Linked DNA regions of Homo sapiens: all the other regions are linked to region 1. Evidence: promoter capture Hi-C in 16 types of primary human blood cells and fetal thymus (Javierre and others, 2016). All regions are on one chromosome and are shown on one strand. The core of a region is centred on a gene start or on the middle of the fragment in contact, and the rest is flanking DNA. Distances in the headings are between cores, read along the strand shown. Region 1 holds the start of BARD1 (BRCA1 associated RING domain 1). Region 2 overlaps IKZF2 (IKAROS family zinc finger 2). Region 3 overlaps RPL37A (ribosomal protein L37a). Region 4 overlaps IKZF2 (IKAROS family zinc finger 2). Region 5 overlaps LINC01953 (long intergenic non-protein coding RNA 1953). Region 6 overlaps LOC105373864 (a long non-coding RNA gene). Region 7 overlaps LOC107985981 (a long non-coding RNA gene).

Region 1 (3,905 bases), core at 642-3,141:
ACTACCACCCAAAGGTCCCCTCCAAATACTATCACGTTGGGGTTACAACTTTTAATATATGAATTTGGGGGTGACACTACAGATACTAATGCCCATTTCATAGGGTCCCTATAAGGCTTAAGGCAGGTATTAACATAGGAAAGCACTTAAAGCTGGGTCTGGCTTGGGTAGGTAGTTCAATGATTCAACAAACACTGAGCACCTACCTGGAGCCAAGCACTGCATGTGCCACATGAAGCGATATTGGGAAATGAGTCACATGCAGCCAATCTCTGGCCTTTTGGAGGTTTTGAACTAGAAGGGGACACGCACATAATCGTATGTGTGTGTATCTACATACACAGGTGATATGATGCACCTGAGAGAATCCAGTCTAGGAACTAGGAAAACCTTTAAGGAGTGATACTTCAGCTGTATTCTGAAGGATGAGGAATGGAGAGGAGGCCAATTCCAGGTTCCAAAGTGAATCTTTGCGCAAAAGCCATGAGGCAGCAAGGTGCAGGGGCTTTTAATGACCTAAGGGAACGCACTGTGGGGTTGGGACCATGATGGCCAGAGGAGGTTTTGACAAGAGGCTAGTCAAAGAGCAGAGAAAAACTTTAAGGAGTTTTAAGAAAGGGAAGTGCCACGATGAGTTTTGTGTTTGGAAATGTTTTAGGCGGCCACACCGCAGTCTCGGGACTGGCTGGGACCTGGATAGACACTTGGATATCAGCTAGAAAGCTACGACAGGAAACCAGGCGAGGACGAGGCAACTGGGGATGTTGTGGAGCAGAGACGGAGAGAAAATGGGTGCATTCGAGACAAGTTAGGGGGAAAAAATGCAAGGACTTGGAAATGAACTTGGGGCGCGGCAGGAAGGCATGACGGGTTGCTCTGTAGGTCTTATCTGTAAATTACGGCGATCAGTGAAAGATCTGGAGGAGGAAGGTGGACACACTCTCTAACAAAAAAAACCCTTTTTGAAATTTTATACCAATATTTTAAAAGTAAACCAGATCTTTTCAGACATGCCTTTGAGCTGATATTTGTTAACTAGTTAGAATTAGAAACTTTCCTTATTTTTACTCAGTTACAATATACGCCACAGCTGAGGTGAGAGGAAAGAAAAGGTTGCTTTCTTAGGAACAAAGAGTGGTACCTTCAGTATCGTGGGCAAAGCTTTTCCAAGTCCAACAGCAGTCAAAACAGCGCTTTTTATAAATAACACTCAGCTAAAAGTTTCTGGGTTTGTGATTGTTCCAACGGTTAAGCTCGGATGAGGGTCCCTGGAGTCGTAGCTCCCGGGAAACGTCGACTGGCTTTCCACCTGGACTTCATCCGTCCAGGCAGCCCAGAGGGGCTTCAGGCCCCGCCCGCTCTCCTGCCAACTACAGCCTCGCGACTGCGCTCAGCCTTCAGGCCCCGCCCCTTCGGTCAAGCGGCGTGCTCTCACTGCACGGCGCCTGGGCCCCGCGCGCCGGGACCTCGGTTTCAGCCGTCCTGTCCTGCCCCGAGGCCCCTAGGCCCCGCCCCTGGGCCCCGCGCGCCAGGACTTCGGTTTCGACCGTCCTGTCCCGCCCCGAGGCTCCTAGGCCCCGCCCCCTCTGTCCCCGGCGTGTTCTCGCGGCTCCGCCCCTAGGACCCGCGCGCCGGGACTTTGGCAAGTTTCAGCCGTCCGGCCCCGCCCCCTCGGTCCCACGGCTCTCGCGGCCCCTCCCCTAAGTCCCACACGCCGGGACTTTGGCAAGTTTCAGCCTCCAGCCCCACCCCTAGGTCCCGCCCACTCGGCCAGCGGCTGGCTCTCGCGGCCCCGCCCCTGTGCCCTGCGAGTCCCTATTTTGGGAGCATTGCGGCCGCCGTGCCCCGCCCCTCCCCGCGCGCCCCGCCCCTCTGGCGGCCCGCCGTCCCAGACGCGGGAAGAGCTTGGCCGGTTTCGAGTCGCTGGCCTGCAGCTTCCCTGTGGTTTCCCGAGGCTTCCTTGCTTCCCGCTCTGCGAGGAGCCTTTCATCCGAAGGCGGGACGATGCCGGATAATCGGCAGCCGAGGAACCGGCAGCCGAGGATCCGCTCCGGGAACGAGCCTCGTTCCGCGCCCGCCATGGAACCGGATGGTCGCGGTGCCTGGGCCCACAGTCGCGCCGCGCTCGACCGCCTGGAGAAGCTGCTGCGCTGCTCGCGTTGGTAAAGACGGAGCTTCTTGGGGGTGGCTGCGAGGGCACGGGTCGCACAGTTTCTGGGGGCGGCAGAATCTTTTCAAATCTTCCGTTTCCTCCTTCCGTTCCCGCGCTGCAGTCGGGTCGGCGTGCGGTTAGCACCTGCCGGGGGATATAGTATTAACAACTTCTGCTTCTCATTCACTTTATTTTTGGGCGACTTACCGGCCTCCCCTTGCCCTGAATCCAACTGAAACGGTAGTTTTTGAACTTCAGCGGGCTGAAGAACCGTCTGGAGGTGTGGCTAAAAAAATGTTCATCCCGGTCGCGCCTCCAGAGTTTGAATCGGGCTGGGGTGGGGCTGAGGCTTCTGCATTTTTTACCCGGCCCTGGATTACCCCGCTGCTTTCCGGGAGCTGTGGCGAATTGGGCTGGCGGGCCGCCCCGGAGACCCTCTAAATTAGAAGCAGCTGCCACTCTAAGTTAAACTGGCCTTTTTGACATTTTCTCCGTGCCAGCTTTTTCGAGTGAGATGGGATGGAGCATCGGATATCTACCATAGTTGTAGATTGAAGATGGCACGGAATTTCTCATTTTCTTAGTTTGCTCAAAAGACTGTATGTCTGGTGTCCCCGCTCTTAGTGATGCTGTTTATTGTTTTCCTTCATGCTGTCACATTATGGGAGTCCTCTCAGGGTTTTCATTCCGTCCAAAGACATTTTCATGAGTGTTACTTCTTGCTTTTTTTCGTGTAGCTCTTTCTAGTATACAAACCAAGAAGGTTTGTAAAACCCAAGAAAGGTTTGTCTCATTTTCATTTCTTCTGAAAAGCATTTTTATTGAGCACTTGCTGTGTGTACAGCTAAGTATTTCTGTATGAAGATCACTGGCAGTTTTTTTGTTATTTGTAGCTGTCAAAAGTTTATATCCTTTTTGGACTTTTTTCCCCTTTGATTTCTAACTTGCAGAACTTAAGTTACCTAGTTGCATAAAGTATAAGTAACACAACTTTTTCTTTTCTTTCCTTTTTTGAGACGGAGTCTCGCTCTGTCGCCCAGGCTGGAGTGCAGTGGCACGATCTTGTCTCACTGCAAGCTCCGCCTCCCGGGTTCACGCCATTCTCCTGCTTCAGCCTCCCAAGTAGCTGGGACTGCAGGCGCCCGCCATCATGCCCGGCTAATTTTTTGTATTTTTAGTACAGATGGGGTTTCACCGTGTTAGCCAGGATGGTCTCCGTCTCCTGACCTCGTGATCCGCCCGCCTCTGCCTCCCAAAGTGCTGGGATTACAGGCGTGAGCCACGGTGCCCGGCCAAACTTTTTCTTTAAAAATGAAAAGGACTTAACTGTCAGAGTTTTGCACTTATATTTTCTTTGACGAAAACTTTTAATATCTGTGACAAAATGACATTGCACTTCTTAGAAAAGTGACACTCAGATAAGTGAGTACATGAAGACATTTGAGTTGTGTGTTTGTTTTCCTGTAGCACATGGGTCATCTGAGAATAGGAAATTTAAAACTGGCACTGCTAGTTGCAATAACAGAAGCATTATAGTTCACACCTTGATAGTCCAACGAAAGTTAGACATTCCCTTGGCACATACCTATGTGGAAGCATCGGGCTTCACTTAGACTGTGGTCAGAATGCCTGAGTTCAGGTTCTAGCTTTGACACTATTGAGTAGGCCAAGTTATTCATCTCTCATTTTCCGGATATGAGTAATACTAATGATTAGCTTATTTTCTTGTGAGGATTCATTAATAATCATAAAT
Region 2 (3,905 bases), core at 568-3,067, 1.8 Mb after region 1:
CAGAGTACAGTTTTTAGAAAATTTAGGTTAATCAGTGATTCACTGTAGCTACAATAATATTCATGAGGATTGTTAATTTGTAAATAAAATAATAATTATATACCTACTCTACTGTCCTTTTGTTATTTACTAGTGTGGTAGAGTTGAATTATTTTATTTTTGAAAATAATCTAATTGGCATAATAAAGTTTATAAACAGTTATACAGATTTCCACAAATCCTAGGAATACGAGACTCACTCAACTCATAACAGCAAGGAGTATGTTAAAGTACACTTGCAACACTATCTTTTTTTGTCAATCAGTGTTTATTGGAGCATTGTGCAAATTATTATACTTTCTTCAGATCTAGATTTTTCTTAAAGTTAATAGCCATTTACGGAGAAGCTGTGATACCTGTCATGCTTTGTCAACTTTGAAATTGTGGACATGATATCATTAAACTAGACACTTCAACATATTTCTGATGATCCAGTTTATACATCTGAGTGTGTCCTGCCATTTTCAACACCACTTTAATACCATTTTGAGACTAGAAAGTCTATTTGCATTTCTTTAATTTAAACTAGATTGAGAAAAATGTAGTCAGAATCTAGTCATTAGCCAAATGTTTTCTCCTTAATACCATGAACTAGTCTGCATTTTAGAACTTCCCACTCTTATCAATTGTTTATCTCTCATATTAAAGATACTGTCTTAAAACCTTATAATGCCTTTGAGAAACATATATTTTAGTGTTTTTAGTTCATAGAATATCTAATATAATTTTTTTTTTGAGTTGGAGTCTTGCTCTGTCGCCCAGGCTGGAGTGTAGTGGTGCAATCTTGGATCACTGCACCCTCCACCTCCTGGGTTCAAGCGATCCTCCTGCCTCAGCCTCCAAAGTAGCTGGAATTACATGTGCCCACCACCAGGCCCAGCTAATTTCTGTATTTTTAGTAGAGACAGGGTTTCACCATGTTGGTCTCAAACTCCTGACCTCAGTTGTTCCACCCACCCTAGCCTCTCAAAGTGCTGGGATTACAGGCGTGAGCCACCGTGCCCAGCCTCTAATATAAAATTGATAGTGAAAAAAGATGCACAACCATCCAATTCATTACAATATCATGGAGCATCAGATCGAATCCACTCTTCTTCTTTCTCTGTCATACTCTACTAAAGTACCAATTGCAGTGTCTTATTAATGGTTTCATTTTATTGATTTGGTATTGCTACTTTAGTAAGTAATCAGGTAATATTGTCATCGGATACTCCAGGCACTCTTCACTGGGAATATAGAGAGAAGAGTAAACAAATAGGGAAAGTAAATCAATTCATGCATGAACACATATCGATTGGACATTATACATATAGAATTCCCTAATTTTGCCTCTCCTTAATCTACTCCCATCTTGTAACTCAGTTTTCAGCACCGTATTTTGTACATTGCAGCTTTGTGCAGCCATCCTCTTGCTCAAAGGCACTCAGCAGATGCTTGAGATTCTGCATATTTGTAGGTTGTTCCACCCAACATAGGAGCACCCTCTGTCTTTGATTCACCAAAGCAAGTTGATGCATATATATTTGCATTTTAATTGAATATTTAAATGCAGGTCTAGAAATAGGTGTTTATGAAGGTACATAAAATATTGAAATATAAGATATTCCATAATAAAAATAATATATAATCTCACCCAGTCAATAAATAAAAATGGACCAGTAGATTGTTCTATTGTATTTAAAAATAAAAACAAAACAACAGATTGAGATATGGACATGAAGGACACATGACCATATCTTAATTATTTTCCTCGATCCAGTTTTGTTAGTCTAGATTTTTGTGCCTACCAGGGGAAAGATTAGTCATTATGGTTATAACAAACTACTTAATGTTTTCAGCTTGGATTGCTCCATTAATGTAGTTAGTAAATTTGTGAGATTTTCTTAAAATTTGCTTTGATATACATATGAAGAACATGATTAATATTTTTTTCAGACAAAGTCTAAACTGACTCAAAAAGGGCACATTGATGCAGTCCATTTAAAGAACAAATTATTTACAAGAAATAATTGAGATATGTTGTTTTAAAGTTTCATAGACAGTATGGAGTTTTTGCATATGTACCATTTGCATAGAGAAAAGATAGTTAACTGAATCTTTTACTTAATTATCAGATAATTTTACACTTATTCTGTAATGCCTAGGCCAGGAAATACCCCACGACATTCAATAAAAGGGTTGCTAATGTTTTATAGAAATAACTTTATCAAAAATTGAGTCAATTCACTTTTTATTTGTTATTAGACAGATATGGATATTACTTCTATATTTGGATTATTCCTGGAATATAACTATGTATACTTTTAGAAATCTCATAAATTACCCTCTGTTTTAATCCTTGTTTCTAACAGTATTGTCTTTGAGGGTTTCATTATGATTCCAACTAACTTTAGTTTGGAACACAATAAAACAAGTGGACTCTTGAAATGATAATTATCTTTTCATATAATCAAGACATCAACAGGAGTTAGGCAAATAAAATGAGGAAAGCCATAAAATTAGTATCCAAATGTAAAAAGCATCTATCAAGACTTATTCATAATTCAAATCAATATCTCCCAAAGCCTTATCTTATTGAAATTAAAATGTATTATTTTCAATGCCCCTTTTCTCTTACCAAAAAAAGGAAGAAAACTATTTACCTTCATCATGCCTTGTTCTTCTTTACTTCCCATGTCCTTGGGAACTTACCAAAGACTTCCATAGTATGACTTCCACACTCAGCAACAGGACAATATTTCCAGATATACCTAGACTACCTTTTGTTTATTCTACGCCATTTGGGGATGATCATATAAATTCAGAAGTAATTTCTTATTAAAAAGATTTGAAGATATCTAGAGTATTTTGTAAATGTAAAAACTAAATTACCCTTTCATTAATCGCATAAAACTCAATTAGGTGAATTTTAAAATTCTTTTTAAAAAAGATATTGTTTCATTTTTAGACTAGCATTATTTTTGAAGAATGAACTACTCTAAATTAAGGATTTTGAAATATTTCAACTCAAACATTGTAGGAGGTTTAAAGGAAATTGGAGTCAGCATGCTATAGGAGTATTATCTAAAGGCAGACATGACTTCAAATTGTTCACCACACTTAGTAATTTAACTCTTGTAAAGTTATTGTTAACGAATTTGTTACTTGCTTGGGAAACCTTACGTAGACATATTTTAAAAGTAAAATCAAATTTTTGGAGTGAAAAGTATAATATATATTTGCTATTTTCCTTTTTCTTTAAAAATTTAATTTGTGAAAGAAGTGCCTCCATCTTTCCTTTTATTACTATGGCAGGGGTTGGGAGTGGAAAATTCTTGATTTAAAAAGTTGCAGCCTGTGATTCCATTAGGAAAGAGAATCAAATAATCAAGTTGTATATTGTGTGTAAAAGTAAAAAAGATCTGCCAAAATTCAATTTATTTTAAAACCTTATGTTGGAAGACTTTATATGAGGAGATATAGATCTTACCAGGTTAATCAAACTAAGAAGATACCACTTAAGGGAACTTTAACATTACAGATTTTTTTCAATCCAATATTATCAATATAGGACCTCTTGTACATGTAGCTCATAAGAGCTCCAGATTTCTTAAGAAAAAACCTTAACCCCCACCACACCCACAGATTACACCTTTTTGGTATGTACCTCATTAACTCCCAAAACACTAAATACTACAGAATTTGAGATATACTTGATCTACCAATTTTTAAATTTATCTAGGTTTTATAACAAATCTATATGATAGAATTTTCAATAGCTGCTGCCAGAAAGTGACCATAGTTTATCTTATTTATACCTCTTAGCTTTCTTTAATAAAAGAATCATTGAGTTTGCATTATGTCAAAGGGCCAAAAAACCTTGAGTT
Region 3 (3,905 bases), core at 968-3,467, 1.7 Mb before region 1:
TGGCATCTTGCTGCTTACAGCATTCTCCCAGTCACTGCAGGTCCCAACCTTCTGTATCTGGAAAGACTGGGTGCAGCCAACTCAATGGGAAAGCAGAACAGAGAAGCTACAGGAACCAGCTCTCAGCCACCAGGAATTAAACCTGTCCTCAGTTCTTGTGGTTTCCGTTTTTTCAGAATGGCTTTTTCTATCTCCAGTCAATGCCCTCTAAGCAAATGACACCATCCTTTTCCCATAGTGCTTGGAACAATCCTTTTATGGTTCCTGTGCAAATGCAGCCAATACATCTCATTTTCTCTACAGCCTGAAGTAAGCCAGAGACTAAGTAATCAAAAATTACACTAAAATACTTAAGAGAAGCCCCTGAGAAAATAGGGTATTATTTGATCCTTAGCACAAATGTGCTACAATTTAACCCATGACAAACAGGCCCATACAACAATTTCCCATAGACAATATAAACAGGAAAGGCAGATCCTATGGAAAAGAGGAAAATAAGCCTTCCTCTTACAAGGAATATCCTAAGATTCCAAAGAGATTTGAACCTCAAAAGTGTTTCATATTCTGGGCACGGTGGCTCATGCCAGTAATCTCAGTACTATGGGAGGCTGTGGCAGGTGGATTGCTTGAGCTCAGGAGTCTGAGACCAGCATGGGTAACATGGTGAAACCATGTCTCTATGAAAAATACAAAAGGTAGCCAAGCGAGGTGGTGCACACCTGTAGTCCCAGCTACTGGGGAGGATGAGGTGGGAGGACGGCTTGAGCCTGGGAGGCAGAGGTTGCAGTGAGCTGAGACCACACCACTGCACTCTAGCCTGGACGACAGAGCCAGACCCTAACTCAAAAAATAAAAATAAAAAATAAAACAAATCAGGTGTGTATGCACATACACACACACAAAATGACTTCAAAGTATTTTCAAAGATCTTATTGACGCTCCTTGGGCCAAAAACAGAAAGGCTTCCTTGGCCTGAACCCTGTTGTCTCCCTTCCCCTGACATCGTAACTCATGCTTTTGCCATAGGCAGTTTCCCTCCTGATTCCTTCTCCTTTGGCCTGATAGCACCCTCTAACACCCACCAACACCCACCCACCACCCCATCTTTGAAAAACAGCATTATGTCCAAAGTGTTATTCGTCTTTCCAAGATCTACAGTTCCTGAACCTATAAGTGTTCTAGATCCAAATTTAACTAATTTGTTCTGTTTGAGAGGAAAACTACTATATCCATCTTACAGATGAAAAGATTAGGCGGCACGGTGGCTCATGCCTGTAATCCCCACACTTTGGGAGGCCGAAGCGGGTGGATCACCTGAAGCCAGGGGTTCAAGACCAGACTGGCCAACATGGCCAGAGAAACCCCATCTCTACTAAAAATTAGCCGGGCGTGGTGGCATACACCTGTAATCCCAGCTACTTGGGAGGCTGAGGAAGGAGAATCGCTTGAATTCAGGAGGCAGAAGTTGCAGTGAGCCCAAGATCATGACACTGCACTCCAGCCTGGCGACAGAGCAAGACTCTATCTCGGGGGAAAAAAAAAAAAGATTGAAGTTCAGGAGAGGATTAAATAATTCCTCCAAGGTCACACAACTAGTATAGCAGAACAACCAAATAACTCCTGCTTGACTCTAGAATCCACATTATTATTATTTTTTTTTTTTTTGGTTAAGACGGAGTCTTGCTCTGTCGCCCAGGCTGCAGTGCAGTCTCAGCTCATACCATTGTCCTGCCTCAGCCTCCACATTCTTAACCATTATGCTGGAGACAGTTCTTGTCCTTTCCAACTGTTGTTTATGTTCCTGAATAAATTTGAGAAACATTTTGCACAGCTCTGGGGTTAAAAAGAAAAATTAGCATTCTGATTGGAATTGGCATGTATATATACATAATTACTTCAGGAGGAAATAACACTTTCACCAGTTTTCTAACTCAAAGAGTTTATAATTAAGCTTAATTAAGCATACTGTTTCCCCCCTGCTATAGTGGGACTTAAGGATGGTGATCATGTCCTGTCCATACTGCAGGGAGTGGTCAACAAAGGCTGGTTTAATGAACAGTCTCTACCCTCAACTAAGCCCCTGCTTCATTAAGTGAACCCATAAAAATACCTGTGGGTCTTTGTGTCAACCATACCACCCACTCTCCCGACACTACTCTGCTCTCAAGGGCCCTGACATACAGGGTTGATTGTGGCATGACATTAACTTGACCCTCAACTTATCTTGATGTACCCCAAAGCATATAAACAATGTTTCCATTCCCTGTTGATGAATTCTGACCTGAAGTGCTATCAACAAAATGGCTTTTAGTTTCCCAGAGGAAGACAGCCAACAGTAAAAACGTTGTACAGATTGCTTGGTTCTAGTTGCTTACATTCCCAAGTTGATGTATTTTTTCCAATCTTAAACAGATCCTCCCCAAACCCCTTCAGTCCCAGTTCTCCACCTCACCTGTTGCTGACAAAACAAAGCTCAAGCTTCCCCATGTCTCAACTTCATACCCAAAAGAAAACTTGGAATTAGACGTGATTCTGTATTGGCTAATCTGTACATTTATCACAGCCACCCGCCTAGTTAGGATACAATGAAATGGCCTGGTGAAAAACACAAGCCTAACTTACTTTTTATATCACAACACAATGTTCAATTAGATGACTTAGAGTCAAAGGCTCAGAAAACCACTGTGAAAACAAGCCAGGGGATGAAGTTGCTTAAATAACAAAACGAAGGTGGGCCATCTTTAGCATGGGAAGAGGCAGGTAAGGAATACTGAGCCCATAAAATAGAAGGCAGACTGGTACAGCAGAAAATCACAGATAGGAGCCAGAAATCTAATCTTCAGCCCTATCTACATCACCTGCCTCCCTATCATCTTGGGAAAATCACTATTTCCTTAGGTATAAAAATATTTATCTCAGCACTTTCACTGGTCTGTAAACTGTCCCCCGCCCTTTCCTCTTTTAACTGTCATAAAAAAGCAATACATGGCTGGGTGAGGTGGCTTACAGAATCCCAGCACTTTGGGAGGCCAAGGCAGACGTTATCAGTTGAGCCTGGGAGTTTGAGACCAGCCTGGTCAACATGGCGAAAGCCCATCTCTACTAAAAATAAAAAATACAAAAACTAGCTGAGCTTTGTGGCATAAGCCTGTAATCCCAGCTACTTCGGAGGCTGAGGCACGAGAACTGCTTGAACCCGGGAGGTAGAGGCTGCAGTGAACTGAGATCATGCCACTGCACTTCAGCCTGGGTGACAGACACTCTCTCAGAAAACAAACAAAAAGCAGTACTTCACTGATTATAAAAACCGAAGTTTTCCATGCCTAATCATGTAACATAGCAGCTTTGTAAGACTCCAAATTAATAATCCAAACACCCAGCATATACTCCATTCTACTACCAAGAATTATACAGGAAACTGAAGCAGAGAGGTTAAGTCACTTAACCCAAGTCACCCAACTATCTAGGCAGTTTGGCTAAGTTGGTGTTCTTAACCGCAGCATTAGACCATCTAATGCTCATTCAATTCCCTATGCTTACATGAAATCCTGGTCACTCACCTGGAGATCCTATGGAGAATTCTCCAGGAGATTCACCTGGAGAGCTGTGTCATTCCTATGAAGCCTGAAAATCCTGACTTGTCACTCCTGGTCCTACCCCTACTGACCCACAGTACTTGCTTCACATTACAAAATCAGTAGGAGTACCATTTTGTGACACAAATGAGATCCACAGATGAGTTACTGCTATGGATCTAGCAAATGCCTGACCCAGTGAAGTATTCTCCTGGGGTAGCGATGTTTCTGCCAGAGGCAATGCAGGAGGTACAGGTGAAGGGAGACATCCGTGCAAAGGCCAGTAATGAGCAAAAAAACAAGTTATAGAAGATAGGGGTCAGACCAAGT
Region 4 (3,905 bases), core at 409-2,908, 1.7 Mb after region 1:
TGTGACGGGTATAATTGAAATGGTAATTAAGTGGTAGTAATGCATTTCATTTGAGGATGGCAATTCAGAAGATGTGTTTGCTGGCAGGTCTTGGCTGCTTGGTGTACCTCCCTAGGTGACCTTGTCCAGAGTGAGTTTTTAGGATGGACTTATTTACTTGTATAACTAGATGTGTTGGTGAATGAATTCCTAGTATAGCTCTGAAATTTTATTAATTTCCATACTTATGGTGCTCTATGTGTTATATTAAATTCATGTCTCTGTTGCATATCTGGAATTCTCAGAACCACATATACATACCCCAGCAGTGTTCTTTTTTTCTCTCTTGTGTAGAATCAAGGAGAAAACAGAATATTCAGTTTAAAAGGATTTCACATTAGAGTACACATAAACAGACATTTTCCTGAGTGAAGTTTCACCTTTTTTGGGTCAGAGTTACTATTGTCATAGGCACAGGACAGTCGATCCCTAATTCCAAATGATCTTTTTTTTTTTTTTGGATGCCTTTATCACCTCCTATCCTGTTTTATCATTGCTTAATTTCTTGAGTACATCTTATCTCCTTTGTGTGACTGGAAACTCCTTGAGGGCAGGGAAAATGACTTTGTAATCTCTGCAGCCTGAGGGTAGCAGACAGAATATGACTTTTAGCACCTAACCGACTGGGATAGTATCTTTCCTATGCTGTGTTTTAGTTACCTCATTTGTAAAATAGGGAAAGTTAGTGCTTGTCTCTTGGAGTTGTTGTGAGGGTTAATAAACTTAGTAAAGCTTTTATCACAGGGCCTAATACATTTTAAGAAATAATTTAAGAAATATTCATTTATCTTTTCCACAGAAGCTAACACAGTGCCTTATACATAGTAGTCTCTCAATTAAGAAGATTTGCTGTTTATTTTAAAATATATTGTGAGTTAATATCCCTATGTGTTGGTTATCTGATTGACTGAATGCATTAGAGACGTCTCTCAGTTATTCCAGACATTATTATTCAGATTAACCCCACAGGTTACTTCAGTTATGCTATCTGTGTTGAGGATACCAGAGACCAAATCACCCAGCTAGTCTTACCCAGAAGGCAGTTTTAAAATAAATGCTCTAACGATGGCTCTAGCTTAGACAACTTTTAACTCTTTTCTCAACACTCATTCAAACAATACTACATTGGACTAAAAGCTTCTCAAGTACATGACTTCAAAAGCTTCACATGGCTTCAAAATATACATCTTTTCAGCCAGTGTCACTCTAGAATTTAGAGATGGATTTTATAAAACACTTTAAGGGATACCTAGAGAATCTTGAAATGTATATACAAACAGGTCAGAGGTATTATTGGAAAATCTTAAAGATACAATTTAAAAGTTAGTGTTACTATTATTATTTTGAGTAATGAATATTTCTGATCTTTATGATCCAAATCTTTCAAGTCATAAATCAGTCATTTAGTAGATATACATGAAAATGACATGTAATTCTAATGTTGTTTTTAATAAACTTTAATCCAGTAGCTAAATCTCAAAGATCATTTAGAATCCTATGAATCAAATGGCTCTCCCTTAAAACTGTTAAGACAGTTCTGTTGATTCCAGATTGTGAGCCAGACCTCCATTTTCTTAGAGGAGTTGTGATAATTATCACATTTGTCTACAATTATTGTAACAGTACTTGGGTTCATATACACAATCTTTACAAAAGATATTTCCCCCAGTTTTATCCCAACATTTACATTCCCCCTCAGTTGAATTCTTACTAGAAATATTTGCTTAAATATGTCCAAGCAATTTGTTACATGAGCAATCATTATCTAGTTTTACAAGCATTTGTTTGTAATCATTCCTATAGCTGCAAGAAATAAGGCAGTATATTTAATAGCTTGAAGAATACCATGTATTCTCTTTGTTTACATTGTAACAGATCATCTTCTTAAGAAGTAATCTTTTATTGTATCTCTTTCACTGTTTTCTTTAACGTTACAAAAAAATTTTGTGTTATTTGGAAGCTCATGAAATATAATTTGCTTGGCGTATGGTTCTGTGAATTAAGCCCATAATATCTAACTGGCATATATAGGAAAGCAATGTACTTAATCCTAACTGAACTGAAAATTCAAGCTTGTATCCATATATTTTTAGTAGCAATTTAATGATAATCAAGTCATATGCATTTATGTGCCAAAAAGAACTGTTTGTGGTAATCAATCTGTAATTTTCTGTTTGACATTTTTTTCCTTTGAATTACTGTAAAATACTTTCAGCTACTAGTAAGATTATTTTAAATCACAATTAAAATTGATTTTTCCCTGCTTGGGTGGGTCTTAAGGTTGGTGGGGAACTTCAGTGCTCCCCCAAATGCTTCCTTTTCAAGTGTGAAGTTTACGGATATTTTGGATCTTACTGTGTTCTCAGGATCATGTCTCTAGGTAGGCACAGCTTTGATGACTGATGTCTATTAATTGTGTTTGTCAGTTTATAACAAAGCATTTATTGCTCTAAAATGCTCTCATGCTTTGGTATTTTGACTTCTTTCCTGCCTGTGAGAGACCCTAGCTTAGTGATTAGTTTTTGTTTCTGAGTTTCTGTTTTTACCAAGTGTTTTTATTTTCTAGATTACTGGCTATTGGGATAAAGGAAATGATCCAGTTAGAGGACATCAGAAAACTAGAAGCTTTTGATAGAACAACAAGATCTAGTGTCCCTATCTAAAGAGAAGAAATAGAGAAGGTGTGCCTTCATTAGAAGTGTTACAATCAATAGCTGCCAATTACTTAGTGAGCAGAAAACATCTGGTACTCACCTTCATCTATTTGCAGCCTGTATATCTTTATGTACAGGTCCTCTTCTCTCTTTCTCAGTTTATTTCTTTAGATACTGTAGATGCTTTCATGACTTTCAACTCTGCATCTAGCACTGTTTCTTTCCTCAAAGGAAATCCCACATCCAGTCTATCAGAAATCCTTGGCTCTGCTTCTAAAATACATCCTGAATTTAAACAATTCTCACCAGGCCCGCTACTGTAACTTTAGTCTATCATCATTTCCTAGTACCTTAAGCCTAAAATATTGCAACAGTTTAACCGGTCTTCCTGCTTCCATTCTTGCTTCTCTGTAGTTTGTTTTCCACACAATAGACAGAGCCTGACTTTCTAAAACCCAAATCAGATCATAACAATTCATTGCTTTAAACACAAAAGCTTTCCACTGAAACTAGAATACAACTAAAATTCCTTTCCAAAGTCTGTAAGGTCCTAAAGGCTGTGGCCCTGCCTCCATCTCTGACTTCCTCTTCTCTATTCTTTCCCTGTTCACTGAACTTTTAATACCTCTTCCCTTTTTCTTTTCCGGGACATGGCAAGTTCGTTCCTGTCTAAGGACCTCTGTACTTGCTGTTTCTTTGGTTTGGGACACGTTTTCTTCCTTGTTTTGCATGAAAGCCTCCTTCTTTTCTTATTTCCATTTAACTGTCGCCTCCTTGGCGAGGCTTTGCCTGAGCATCCTAGATAAATAAGCCCCTCTCCAGGCATTCTATGACATTATCCTGTTTTATTTTCTTTATTATACTTAATAGTATCTGAATTTACTTAATTTGTGTATTTATCTCTTCTCCCAACACACAGTTGAGGAACATTTGGCTTGTTCATTCATGTAGTAGGGCCAGGAATGTAATAGACAATAAATGTGAACTCACAGATGAACTGACTCCTTGTTCTTTCCCTTCCATAAATAGAATTCTCTGTGTGTGTCTATAAAGCAAACAAAGTGTTTTACACTGTAGTGTTCATTCTAAACCCTCTATTTTAGAAACCTGTACATTGAGGCGAAAGTCACATGGGGAGAGAGTAGTACAACAACGATTAAAAAACCTTATCTTGGCCAGATGTGGTGGCTCACGCCTGTAATCCCAGCACTT
Region 5 (3,905 bases), core at 390-2,889, 1.7 Mb after region 1:
ATTCAAAATACCCTTAAGCAGAGTTCCCCTAAAATCACTGATTGGCTTTTCAAGTAAATAGTGTCTTTGTTATCAAATAAAAGCATTATTTCTTTTTGTTCTTAGAAAAAATAACCTGTAATGAGAGAGCAAATATGTAACTTCTACACGCATGGGATAGGAAATCCTAATTAAAATAATATAGTTACGTTTCTCTACTCCAGTATTCACTGTATTTGTAAATTAAAAACAAGAGAAACATTCTAATTTCACAAGCTTCATGTATAAACCCTAGCAAAATGTTCAACTTGACTTTTACTATAAACTGAGAGCTGTTCTCCACTGGAAAAAAAATCTGTTTCCTGAGAAATATCGTTTAAGAAGCCGTAACCATTTACAATTACAGTGTTTATCACAGAAAGCCATGCACTCATTATTTACACATGTAGGTGAAGTATGTCTACAAAAGGCAGCCGTATGATCCATCTGTTTCTGGGAGTAATAAATCTGAAATGGTCCCCTTTGAAATAAAATGTGCAAATATGCTTGGTGACCCAGACTTTAAAGTTATGTTCTTATCTGGATCTCTGTGTCACCATTGATTGTTACTCAACTCTTCATAGGGTGACTTTCTTTCAATTCACTCTCAGTGATTCTCTCATGTCATTCACTTATTGAGAAGAGCTCTAGATATTAATAAACATCTGATATTAACATACTAAATGCCAAATAGGTAATGTTTCACACATAGATAAGTTCTGGGTTTGGTAAAAAGTTCTATGTTGATACCACATTCAATTAACCTTCTTAAAACACCCTGGACATTCAGTATGCTTTCAAGAGATACAACAGTGGACTGCGTATTACTCATAAGGCTGGATTTAACTACAGTAAGACGTCTGTATGATTGATGAAAATAATTGGCAATTTAGAGAGACTATAGTATGATGGTTATGAATATGGGCTTTCTAGAACTTAAAATATGTGTTTGACACTGTCTAGCTCTGAAACTGTGGGACCAGGGACAAGTTAATACTGTCTCCAAGCTTTCTTCATGTGAAAAATGGGGTAGTATTACCTCTCTTAAAATGACAGTGGGTGTTAAATGAGATAATGCATGTAACATGCTTACCATGGTATCTGGCACGAAATAAATGGATATAATTATAAAAATGATATATGTGACTTTCCTAGTCCCACTGATACTCTAACTTCATTGAAATCAGTTATATCATCAATTTAAAATGCTATAGATTCTTCGTATGGATTTATTTCTCAATAATAGTACACTTCAAAAGTACAGTCTTCCAATGTGGCCATTTCTGCAATATAGTTTACAGGACTTAGAGTGATATTCTTAGTCTACTGAGTGGGACTTTCCCAGGTGTCTAGTACCTCACCATGACGTCAGGTTTTAAATACTTTTGTGAAGCTTTGGCACAGCTGCTGGGGGAGATACACTGATGGTGTTACTCTCTCCTTTATCATGTCTTACGACAGTTCAGAATGCCACACTAAGTTCTATATTAAGCTAACCTTTTTCTAAACCACAGTCATGAAAATTGGGGGAGATGACATTTGACTTTACTACTTGTAAATGACCTTTCTTTGATTCAATTCCCTTTTCCATAGCTCACGCCCTCTTTCAGAGTTATAAAACAGAAAATGGCTCCCCAGTTCTATCCCTATATGGTTCTCAATTCCCTAGGTTGTAACCATCTGGCTATAAAAATGGGGAAGGTGAATTCTCTGGATTATTTCCTTTACTATCTGTTGGTAATGTGTTCCTCTATTTTTTTTTTTTTTCAGCTTAACAGGATTGTTAAGCAAGTGATTAGACTTTGCTTTACTGTGAAAGAATTTTGGTTTATAAAGAGTTGAAGCTTCTCACAAACACTGGGTATGTACTTCCACAAGCTTTTCACAGGATTAAAAAGACAGTATCATACTGCTATTGGCACTGGTTTAACCACCAAATGTTTCCCTTGAGATGCAACCTGTCATCACTCTGCTTTAGAGTATGGATCTCTCTTGCAGAATCCAACCTTTGATATCACAGATCGTTAGGTTAATCTGTCCTATTTTCACCTCCCAATTCCAAAGTCAAATGATTATGTTTGGTTTTCCTGCTGGTCCCCAGCAAAATAAGTTTCTTTTTAATCTCTTGCATGTAGCTGCGGAAAAATATTCCAAATAATGAGTTTTTTTTTTGTCCTGTATCTAAATTAATGCTCACCAGGCGTCTTCTCCTTTGTTACCCTCTTTTGGTAAGTTATTTCTTTACAAAGTTGAATCATATCTTTTTCATTTCTTGAATTAACACTTCATTGAGGATTCCAATAACTTCCCTGTACTTTTTGTGCTCTAAAATTTTAGGGTTTCTTCTCAATCCTTTTTAGAGTTGACTTTGAGCATCACCACTTGACCCAGTTCAAAATTCCCTTGTTTTTGCATTAATGGAACTCATTTTATCAAATGCTGAACAAATCTGCATTTTAAAAGCAATTATGGTGGGTTTTAATGACATCTTTAAAAATGTGTGCTTTCATTTTTTTCAGGAACCTCTCTGGTCCTCACCCCACTGGTTTAACTCCCGTAATTTATCATTCTCATTTGGGATAGAGTTAGCTTATCACCTGCTCTACAGCAAAACACTCTCTCTGGAAGAAATCTGATAGTATTCTATCAACGTGTGAATTTAAGTCATAATGTTACCTTTTTTAGGGACATGAGTATTTGCATAAGAGCCTTATCTCTAATTGCAAAGTGACACTCTTAAGACTGTTAAAAGAAACTATTGTTCAAGGTAGATGGAATTAGAAGACCCTCAGCATGTGGGACTTATATGCCAGCTGAATAGACCCCAGACTATCAGTGCACTCAGGGAAGTAAAGTTTGACAGTATTTATATGCTTTACTTATGAACTGGATTTGGTATCTTAGAATATTTTCTTTGAAAAGGTAGTTCCATTTTTGGCTTTCTTGCTTCTTCATAGTGCCAATCTAGGTCAACAGGAGTAAGTGAGACCATTGTTCCATATCCCGCTTAAAAAGAGAACACTACTTCAAAGACAAGAACAACATCACCTGACAAAAATAAAAGAAGTTATCGGTTTTAAAACATTGTGCTTATGTGTGCCTGTTATTCTTAACTTTTTCAGGGATTCAAGTTATTTTAGGGTACCTATTCTGGTTGATTATATATCTAGCACAATAAAGCCATTTAAATAAAAAAATATAGAATTCATTTCCAAAAATTTCTTCTTTGATTTTAGGAAAGAATTATAATTTTCCAAATTGTCCCCTCCCACCTTCTGCTAAAAAGACCCCCAAAACTTAAAAACGTACAATTAATTCCTTGAGCAAACAAAAGGGGATTTTACCCAAATTCCTTTAAAGGGTACTTAGGGCTTTTAAATCTAAAATAGATAAAACAAACTACCCAAAGAAAACAAAACCAATACTCCACAATGTACCTTTTAGCTATATTGCCTTGTAAAATTTTTCTTTTGCTGATTACACTTAGTGATTACAAAATTAAACCTGCTGCATTTCTTGATAGTCACCCTGGTTCATGAATTGTCAGGTGGTAACAGGAAATAATTCATTTTTGAAACAGAGGCATTACATAAATGTATTTTATTCCAAATTGCATTTTATATACAATGTTAGCCACTTTTCATATTTATATTTGCAAAATTAATATATAAATGTTAAAAATATATATTTATATATAATTTTATTTTTAATTTATGTAACATTTTATTTTATATACATTTTGTAAATATAACTGTTATCTACCAAGAGGTTCAGATCCTTTGTGTGGCTTGTAAGCCAGAGCTGACCTGTTAAAGATATTTGTAATATGACTTATGAGCCAAGATCTGACCAAATTCTTTATGAAATCAGCATGTATCTTGGAAATG
Region 6 (3,905 bases), core at 797-3,296, 1.6 Mb after region 1:
GCCACTTCTCACTCTTTATGCAGAGTAAAAATTACCAAATTTCTTCAGAGTCAATTAGTTAACAAATATTTGTTGAGCACCAATGTAGTTTCTTTGTGGAGTTTTAGGACTTCTGCTTCCAAGGGCATGGAGTTTAAGTGTTAAAGGGGCAGTCACACTCCCTCATTTTGAGTTTGTTCATTCTCCTCTTTGGGTTATTGGGCAACAAGCTTCTAAGTTACTATAGACTCATCCAAAGACTGGTGACCTTCTTAGACTTTAAAATGTTGTTCTACTTGCTCATCAAGATGTACCTCCTTTTTTGTCCTGGAGTTGACAAGGAACTTCAGTGGATTCTGGGTTCATTTTTATTAAACAGTAAATAGAAATTGTCAGTCACTTGGGTATATTGATGACAAGCTATATCTTAAGTGAAGGTAAATGCTCATCAGCCCCTAAAATATTTGCCCAGAGGGCAGCTTTAAATTCTCCTGTATTTACTTAAGAAGACCGGAGGTCATGGCTCTGAATTCTTATTCTAACTAAGCAGGGTGTTTTTATTACCCTAAATCCCTGGAATATGGCAGTGTTATCTCCCTACACAAATCTTGGGATTATTGCCCTGAAGTAACATTAAATGCATGTGGTTTCAAAAAATGAAAAGCAAACCAATCCCAACAACCAAACAAGTAAAAAAAAAAAAAAACTTTGAAGGTGGTTTTGGAACTGAGAGTGAATTGTAGAGTTCAGTTGTACAGTTTTTGCAACTTTTTTCCTGTAAATCTAAAACTAATCTAAAAGTAAAAGTTTATTTAAAAAAATAGATTCTAACAACAAAAAAAGGATAGAAGACAGCGTAAATGTCATTAGTCTCCCATTTTAGTCTTTCAAGTTTCAAATTTCAAATTCAAGTTTCAAATTCTTTTCTTACTATGACGACATTGGAGTAGGAACAGAAAATTCTATCCATTGTATCAATTGAATTGTAAGATATTTCTACTTTTTCTTTTTAAGACCTCTTGCTTGATTTGCTGAGAGTCAATCAGATAAAAAATAAAAGCCATTCCAACCTTCATGAGAGATAAAGACTTAAGTGAATTGACATAATATATTGTCCTTCATATATAATCATAAGGCTGACACACTGTCAATAGCAGTCAGTTTCGAATTAAGCAGTGATGACATGTTGCTGCTGAGCTATTCACAAAGAGCTAGAGGACATATTCAGTGGAAGATGGGCCTGGAGCTTGGTTGGAAGTGGTACTGGGACTAAGTCAGATTCCAGGACACCTGGATGAAAGTCAAAATAGTGCCTGAGGCAAATTTTGCCCACAGCATGAAATTCTTCCCACCTTTGGCCAGGATTATTACCAGGAACTGGGCTAGAACAAAACTTGCCAATAGTGGTCCAATAGTGCACATTTCAGCCCAACAGCCTCAAAAGTGGTATACCCTAAGAGGTCTGCAGAAAAATCCCTCAGGTTAAAGAAAGAAAACATTAGAACTTGTACTTCTATTTATTTTTATCTAAAAAGAAATACATTACACTTTATTGATATTTACTATATGAGTTGACCCTGGTATCCTCACTAGATCTGCTCGTTAGCCAATCTTCAGTAGAAGGGAACATGGTTTTCACAAGCCTTGTTTCTATTAGAAGGGACTTTACTAGGCAAAGTCTTGGTCTTTCTACCCCTCCAACCCGATACTGTCAGTCCTCTCCTTGGACTACTGGAATTCTGTCCTCTCCCTGGGGGACACCTGCCTCTCTATAGCAACACCTAAATGGATTGGGTAAATTTGCTATATCTGGGGTCTTTGTAGCAGGCCCATCTGGTACTTATATTAAGCTACATTCTTTAATCTAGATTTCATAATACTAAACATGAGAATTTGCCTTCATATGTTACATGTTGCTTCATTTCTCAGTTTGTTTAGAAAAGAGGCCCCATTAGAGACCCTAACAGTCTTTTCTCACATGTGATTATATGAGGTTTTTTGAGGGAAATGGAGGAGTTCCATAACTGGAGGGCTTGACAAGGGTAACTTCATTCATTTATTTACTTTCAGTCTCTTACAGTTCACCCATGTGTGACTGATTTTATGTGTGTCAGATATCTTTCATTGGCCCCTCTAGATTTATTTTTCACTCCTTCTTCTTAGCCCTGAGAAAGGGCTCTCTTGATTGTCAGCTTCTGGTTGGTGACATTTTCTGTCATAGCCAGTGGCTATACTGCCTAATAGATACCTGCAAAAATATAAATAAGCAATTCCTTAATGGTAGAGGTAATATTTTAACAATAAGTGAAACAGTAATTACTTTCAAAAAGAATATACATTTTGAAAAGGGATTTTGGGGATGGTGTCTACTAGAACATTCTTTTACAGCTGAAGCAATGTAAGTAAATCTGCCATCTTTAAAAACACTTTTCATATTCTGATAGCTAAAAAATTTAAATACAAAATTTTCTGACATGCCAAAAATATTACAGTATGTTTGAAGTACATTTGTCAAAAACAAACTAGCCAATCCTTTGATTACTTTGTAAGAACTACTAACATTAAGATGGAAATTGAAATTTATAAGTAAAATTTCAAAATCATCTTTGTATAAATTGGTGAGTAGGACTGAAAACAGAGTATTATGATGTTTTCAGTGCAGACAAATATATATTTCTTCCATTTAGTTCTGCCTCTGATTGTAAGGAGTCTTTAACTATGACAAGCACTAAATCTAAGCATTACAATAAACCAAATTACTTGTTTATTTGTTTTGAGACAAGGTCTAGCTCTGTCACCCAGACTGGAGTACAGTGGCGTGATCCTGGCTCACTGCAACCTCCACCTTCTGGACTCAAGCGATCCTCCTACCTCAGCCTCCCTATAGCTGGGACCACAGACGCACATCACCACACCTGGCTAATTTTTGTATTCTTTGTAGAGACCAGGTTTTGCCATGTTGCCCAGGCTGGTCTTGAACTCCTGAGCTCAAGTGATCCATCCACCTCAGTCTCCCAAAGTGCTGGGATTTCAGGATTGAGCCACCATACCCAGCCAAACCAAACTTCTAAACAGGTCTTTTAATTGCTGCAACTAAAAGTTTTAAACCAAGATTTTCAAAAATATAAGTTTTGGTCATTCAAAATAAAATAAAGATGGAAGGAGCCTGGTATTATAAACTCACAGTAATATGTTATGTCAATAGAAATTAACTATTAGTATATTAAGGCATTGAGATTTTGGTGTTTGGTTACAGTAGCTATTCCACCTTGCTAAGTACAGAAATTGGTACTTTGACATGTGCTACTATAATCACAATATCCAAAAATAAGTGGCATTAATTTAGTGGCTGGCCAACAGAAAGTGAGGCTATGATAGAGCAGCCTGGCTGTTTGGAGAGTTCTGCTGTGTCTCAGCAGGTTTTCAGTAAAGCTGTCATGGGAGAGCTTGGAAAGCAGACCACACATCTACTGAATCTGTGGCTCTAGGGCAAGTAGTTGGAACTGTCAGAGGGTTAGTGAGTTGGCCAGAACTTAAGCAAGAAAGATATGCACTCAGGTGAGCTCGAGCTGATTTCCAAGCAGAGAATGGACAGAAGAAAGTTCAGAGATCAAGGGCCTTACATGGTTGAAAAGTTGATAGCTTTTGGACCCCAAATAAAAAATGGTCCTGAGTGACAAAGAGCCGGTGAGATTTCTCAAACAACTCAGCCCTTCAGTAAACATCAGATTAAGAGAGATACTTTTCCACTGTAGCATATTGTTTCAGATAGCCTCAAGGTACCTGCCATCAAGCTGAAGAAGAAACAGGACTAGGAAACAAAGAGTAAGGAGAGTTGAATAACTACATCTAATAAAAACCTTGGCACATGGAATTAACTGGAAGCAAATAGATCAGAAGCTTACTAAGAAATTTTTGAAGAAATT
Region 7 (3,905 bases), core at 839-3,338, 1.6 Mb after region 1:
TTAATATAATATAAATTTTATTTTATAATTTTCAGTTATTTTAATGCAAAATGGTTGTAATAAATTTACCAGCGGTGAGGTTTATTTAAACACTAATATGTATCTTAAGAAATAGGCAGAGTAATCTGAATCTTGTGCTCATTTAACTCATATTCAATTTATTGACTAAACGTATATCTAAATATTCACAAAATTTTTGTAAGTGCTCACTTCCAATTTTATTCAATTATAATCTAAAAGTATGCATGTTTTAGCATATTAAATTATTTTTGGATTGCTTAAATTACTGTTCTAATTCTGCATCCTTTTTAATTTCTTAATACTGACACTTAAAAAGCCAACATTGCTTTGATTTCTCCTGAATACTTTTACTAATTTTAAATCTATATAAAATATATTTAAAGACAACTTTTTTCTTTCTTAAAAGTAATATAAATATATAATGGAAATTTTCAGTACAGTGCTTGACTCATAATATCATGAATTAAATAACACATTCCATAAAAAAAAGCACTTCTGTTGGATGTTTGTTAGGGAAAAAAAATGGCAGTAGTTGCCTTTAAGAAGCGTTTGAATACAAAACTTCCCTTGTACTTAGCAATTTTCACCTTTAAAACATTTTTTCCATTTTTTGTTTGTTTTTATTCTTCCGGCTTCCAGGGCTGGAAGTTCACCTTCCACAGAGCCTATACTCCCTTCGCACTTCATTCTCTCTCTTACAAAGTTCTCAGCTCTTTCTTTCTGTACCCTTAGTGCCAAAACTCTTCATTCAACAGATACAAAAGCAAAGTGAAGGTGAGGCTCCATACCTGCATATACCATGTTTATAAAGGAAAACAAAACAGATGGGATGGTATGGAGTAGGACATGTGACCAAAATCCAATAATCATCCCTTACTTGTTGATATTGTTCTTGACACTAAATGCTAAAGTCATACATGTTGGTGCTTAAATGGACTCATGATAAATGAAAATATATTTTTTCATCTTTTGGCACTAGGCTTGTTGAAAGTTGTGCAGTATGCTGTTTCACTCCCATTTGAAATGCCAGCCTAGAATTTTTAGCATCATGAGTATGTTGTGGGATCAACACAACAGACTGAGTATTGAGTTTGTAAAAATTGAACTTTGCGTATTTTAAAATACACTTTTTACTTGGTAGGAAGTAAAAAGACAAAAAATAAAATTAAAAAAATCACATCATATTAGGTATAATACAGATTGTCAGCAAAGAACTTCCTATGCCATAAGTAGTATGAACATATTTAATCTTTTAAATATGTCCATTAAAGTGTCCATTAAAAAATTAAATGTCTATTTTAAAAAACTAAACAATTCAGAAGCAATGCTTTATGTAGTGAGAAAACAATACTTCATGCATAATGAAAGAGAGAAATTACTTAAAACTTTCTTTAATCCTAAATTGTTTATCAGTTTTGAAACTCTGCACATAGTAGGGATAGACTTCCACTTTAAGAGATACATTTTGGGGACAAAATTTTAGTTTGGCAGGGTGTTCCTCTTCCACTATCCACATGTTTCTTAAACTCTTTTTCGTCAAGTGTCGAGGGGCCCTTCTTACTTACGACATTCCATCTTCAGACAGCTTAAAACTTTCCCAGGAAAGCTCTAAGTCCATGTTTCCCAAATGTTTAAGCTGATAGATATTATAAGACTTCTTTTCCTCTATTTTCTGAGCCCCCTCATCAAGCAAATGTATTTTATCTATTCCCATTTTATGTTATTTTTTAAATATGTATTTCTATATATGGAATATGCTTTTCATTTCTACAAATGGTTGTTTTTAAAAATGAAAATAGCTTGCCTTTCTGATTAGCAAAATATTCTATGCTCAGTGTAAGTAATTCAGATCATATATTACTACTTTTCATCATGTATACTTCTATTTATATTTTTTACATAAATGGGAACATACTATAATTTATTTTTTTCACTTAACATAACATGTTAAAGATTCTAGGTCCATTCCCGGAAAACTGATTTACTATGTATTTCCCTAATGACTAAAAAGTATTCTACTGGGTAACTGGTATCTTAATTGGCTGATCTAATCCCCTATTTACTAACACCAAATTTGTTTCCTATTTTCATTATCTGATACAATTTTACATTCTTGCACATATATTTTTACTCACCCGTTGGACTACTCCTTTAGGATACAAATCTAAGAAATGGAGAGGAAACACATTCTTTTAGTATGTTACAAAACCCAAATTGCCCTGCACAGTATTTATATCCATGTTCTGTCCCACCAACAGTGTGGGAGAGTACTTATACTGCCCTGTATCCCCATAATCTTACTTATGCTAAGACATCAATTTTTTAAAAATCAAATCAATAAAAAATGAGATTTGTATTATTTTAAACACCTTTGATTTCTAGTAAGATCAATGACTGGTCTGTCTTTGAGGTGATACTTAGAAAATACTTCCTGTTACAGACTGAATTGCATCCCCCAAAATGTGTATGTTGAAAGCTGAATGCCAGTGTGGCTTATTTAAAGATAGGGGCTTTAAAGAGGTAATTACAGTTAAACGAAGTCTTAAGGGTGAGGCCCTAATCCAGTGACTGGTGTCCTTATAAGAAGAGGAAGAGCCACCAGGAATGCATATGCTCAGGGAAAAGGCCACCTGAAGACATAGGGAGAAGGTAAAAGGCCTCAGGAGAAACCAACCCTGCTGACACCTTGACCTTGGACTTCCAGCCTCCAGAACTGAGAAAATAAATTTCTGTTAAGCCACAGGTTTTTTTTTATATTAATAGCAGACCTGGCAGACTAATACACTTCCCCATTTCAAGATTGTAGCATCGTTAATCTGAATTTTCTCCTCATATTTTATAATCTTATTCTTTTCATTCAAATCTCTGTTCTGTTTTGTTTTGTTTTGTTTTTCTTAAAGACAGGATCTGGGGCCGGGCGCGGTGGCTCACGCCTGTAATCCCAGCACTTTGGGAGGCCGAGGCGGGTGGATCATGAGGTCAGGAGATCGAGACCATCCTGGCTAACAAGGTGAAACCCCGTCTCTACTAAAAATACAAAAAAAAATTAGCCGGGCGCGGTGGCGGGCGCCTGTAGTCCCAGCTACTCGGGAGGCTGAGGCAGGAGAATGGCGTGAACCCGGGAAGCGGAGCTTGCAGTGAGCCGAGATTGTGCCACTGCAGTCCGCAGTCTGACCTGGGCGACAGAGCGAGACTCCGTCTCAAAAAAAAAAAAAAACAAAGACAGGATCTGGCTCTGCTGCCCAGGCTCTAGTCTAGTGGGTGATTATAACTCATTGCAGCCTAGAACTCCTGGGCTCAAGGGATCCTTCCTCCTCAGCCTCTCAAGTACCTAGGACTACAGACGGCACCATCCCCCTGGCAAATTAAAAAAAAAAATTTTTGTAGACACAGGGTCTTGCTATGTTACCCAGACTAGTCTTGAACTCCTGGCCTCAAGTGATCCTCCTACCTTGGCCTCCCAAAGTGCTGGCTTTTCTGGTTTACAGGTGTGAGCCACCGTGCCCAGCCTTAAATTTCAAAATATAATTAAGTGGGAGGCAGGGTTCTCTTATATTTTTGCAAACACTAGCCATTTGTTCCAAAACATTTTTTTGGAAAACCCATTCAGTACATTGATTTGAAATATCACCTCTAAATTCCCAGGGACTTACAGCTATGTTTGCTTCTTTACTTTTTAATCTCTTCCATTGATCTGCCTGTTTACTCCGATGCTGTTACTCAAACACTATCACAGTTTCAATTGTCACACCTTAAAAATATGGCTTAAGGCCAGGCGCGGTGGCTCACGCCTGTAATCCCAGCACTTTGGGAGGCCGAGGCGGGCGGATCACGAGGTCAGGAGATGGAGAACATCTTGGCTAACGCGGTGAAACCCCGTCTCT

What was found. Contacts are between HindIII fragments. The CHiCAGO score rates a contact against its expected background, and 5 or more counts as called.
Region 2: a fragment that was not itself captured here is called in contact with the fragment with the promoter of BARD1 in region 1 in 1 of 17 cell types (fetal thymus); the score reaches 7.3 in fetal thymus.
Region 3: a contact is called between a fragment that was not itself captured here and the fragment with the promoter of BARD1 in region 1, in 1 of 17 cell types (activated CD4 T cells). The highest score is 7.2, in activated CD4 T cells.
Region 4: a fragment that was not itself captured here is called in contact with the fragment with the promoter of BARD1 in region 1 in 5 of 17 cell types (fetal thymus, naive B cells, total B cells and 2 more); the score reaches 20.8 in fetal thymus.
Region 5: a contact is called between a fragment that was not itself captured here and the fragment with the promoter of BARD1 in region 1, in 3 of 17 cell types (total B cells, naive B cells and fetal thymus). The highest score is 23.9, in total B cells.
Region 6: a contact is called between a fragment that was not itself captured here and the fragment with the promoter of BARD1 in region 1, in 3 of 17 cell types (total B cells, fetal thymus and naive B cells). The highest score is 10.3, in total B cells.
Region 7: a contact is called between a fragment that was not itself captured here and the fragment with the promoter of BARD1 in region 1, in 1 of 17 cell types (fetal thymus). The highest score is 9.9, in fetal thymus.

What each region holds. Positions count from the first base shown.
Region 1 is chr2:214,807,669-214,811,573 of GRCh38, reverse strand. It overlaps BARD1 (BRCA1 associated RING domain 1), which reads left to right and starts at 1,891. Exons shown (of 11, transcript NM_000465.4): 1 at 1,891-2,162. The coding sequence starts at 2,005. SNHG31 (small nucleolar RNA host gene 31) reads right to left here and starts at 1,345. Exons shown (of 4, transcript NR_110292.1): 1 at 1,142-1,345. RefSeq lists a silencer at 1,413-1,982 and enhancers at 2,533-2,612, 2,903-2,952. The HindIII fragment of the contact is 4,673 bases long and covers 1,164-3,905 here.
Region 2 is chr2:213,051,113-213,055,017 of GRCh38, reverse strand. The region is part of intron 5 of IKZF2 (IKAROS family zinc finger 2); the gene reads left to right. Among named protein-coding and RNA genes, the nearest start is that of IKZF2, 99 kb to the left of the region's middle. The HindIII fragment of the contact is 4,308 bases long and covers 1-3,905 here.
Region 3 is chr2:216,502,781-216,506,685 of GRCh38, reverse strand. RPL37A (ribosomal protein L37a) reads right to left here. Exons shown (of 4, transcript NM_000998.5): 4 at 2,600-3,905. Among named protein-coding and RNA genes, the nearest start is that of RPL37A, 5.9 kb to the right of the region's middle. The HindIII fragment of the contact is 527 bases long and covers 1,954-2,480 here.
Region 4 is chr2:213,128,913-213,132,817 of GRCh38, reverse strand. All of the region lies in intron 4 of IKZF2 (IKAROS family zinc finger 2), which reads left to right. Among named protein-coding and RNA genes, the nearest start is that of IKZF2, 21 kb to the left of the region's middle. The HindIII fragment of the contact is 910 bases long and covers 1,204-2,113 here.
Region 5 is chr2:213,155,001-213,158,905 of GRCh38, reverse strand. LINC01953 (long intergenic non-protein coding RNA 1953) reads left to right here. Exons shown (of 4, transcript NR_146974.1): 3 at 1,789-1,879; 4 at 2,976-3,090. Among named protein-coding and RNA genes, the nearest start is that of IKZF2, 5.3 kb to the right of the region's middle. RefSeq lists an enhancer at 1,550-1,619. The HindIII fragment of the contact is 451 bases long and covers 1,414-1,864 here.
Region 6 is chr2:213,172,388-213,176,292 of GRCh38, reverse strand. LOC105373864 (a long non-coding RNA gene) reads right to left here. Exons shown (of 3, transcript XR_923851.3): 3 at 2,023-2,227. Among named protein-coding and RNA genes, the nearest start is that of LINC01953, 6.6 kb to the right of the region's middle. The HindIII fragment of the contact is 3,670 bases long and covers 212-3,881 here.
Region 7 is chr2:213,190,581-213,194,485 of GRCh38, reverse strand. It overlaps LOC107985981 (a long non-coding RNA gene), which reads right to left. Exons shown (of 5, transcript XR_007088069.1): 3 at 2,157-2,185. Among named protein-coding and RNA genes, the nearest start is that of LINC01953, 25 kb to the right of the region's middle. RefSeq lists an enhancer at 3,450-3,905. The HindIII fragment of the contact is 5,176 bases long and covers 1-3,905 here.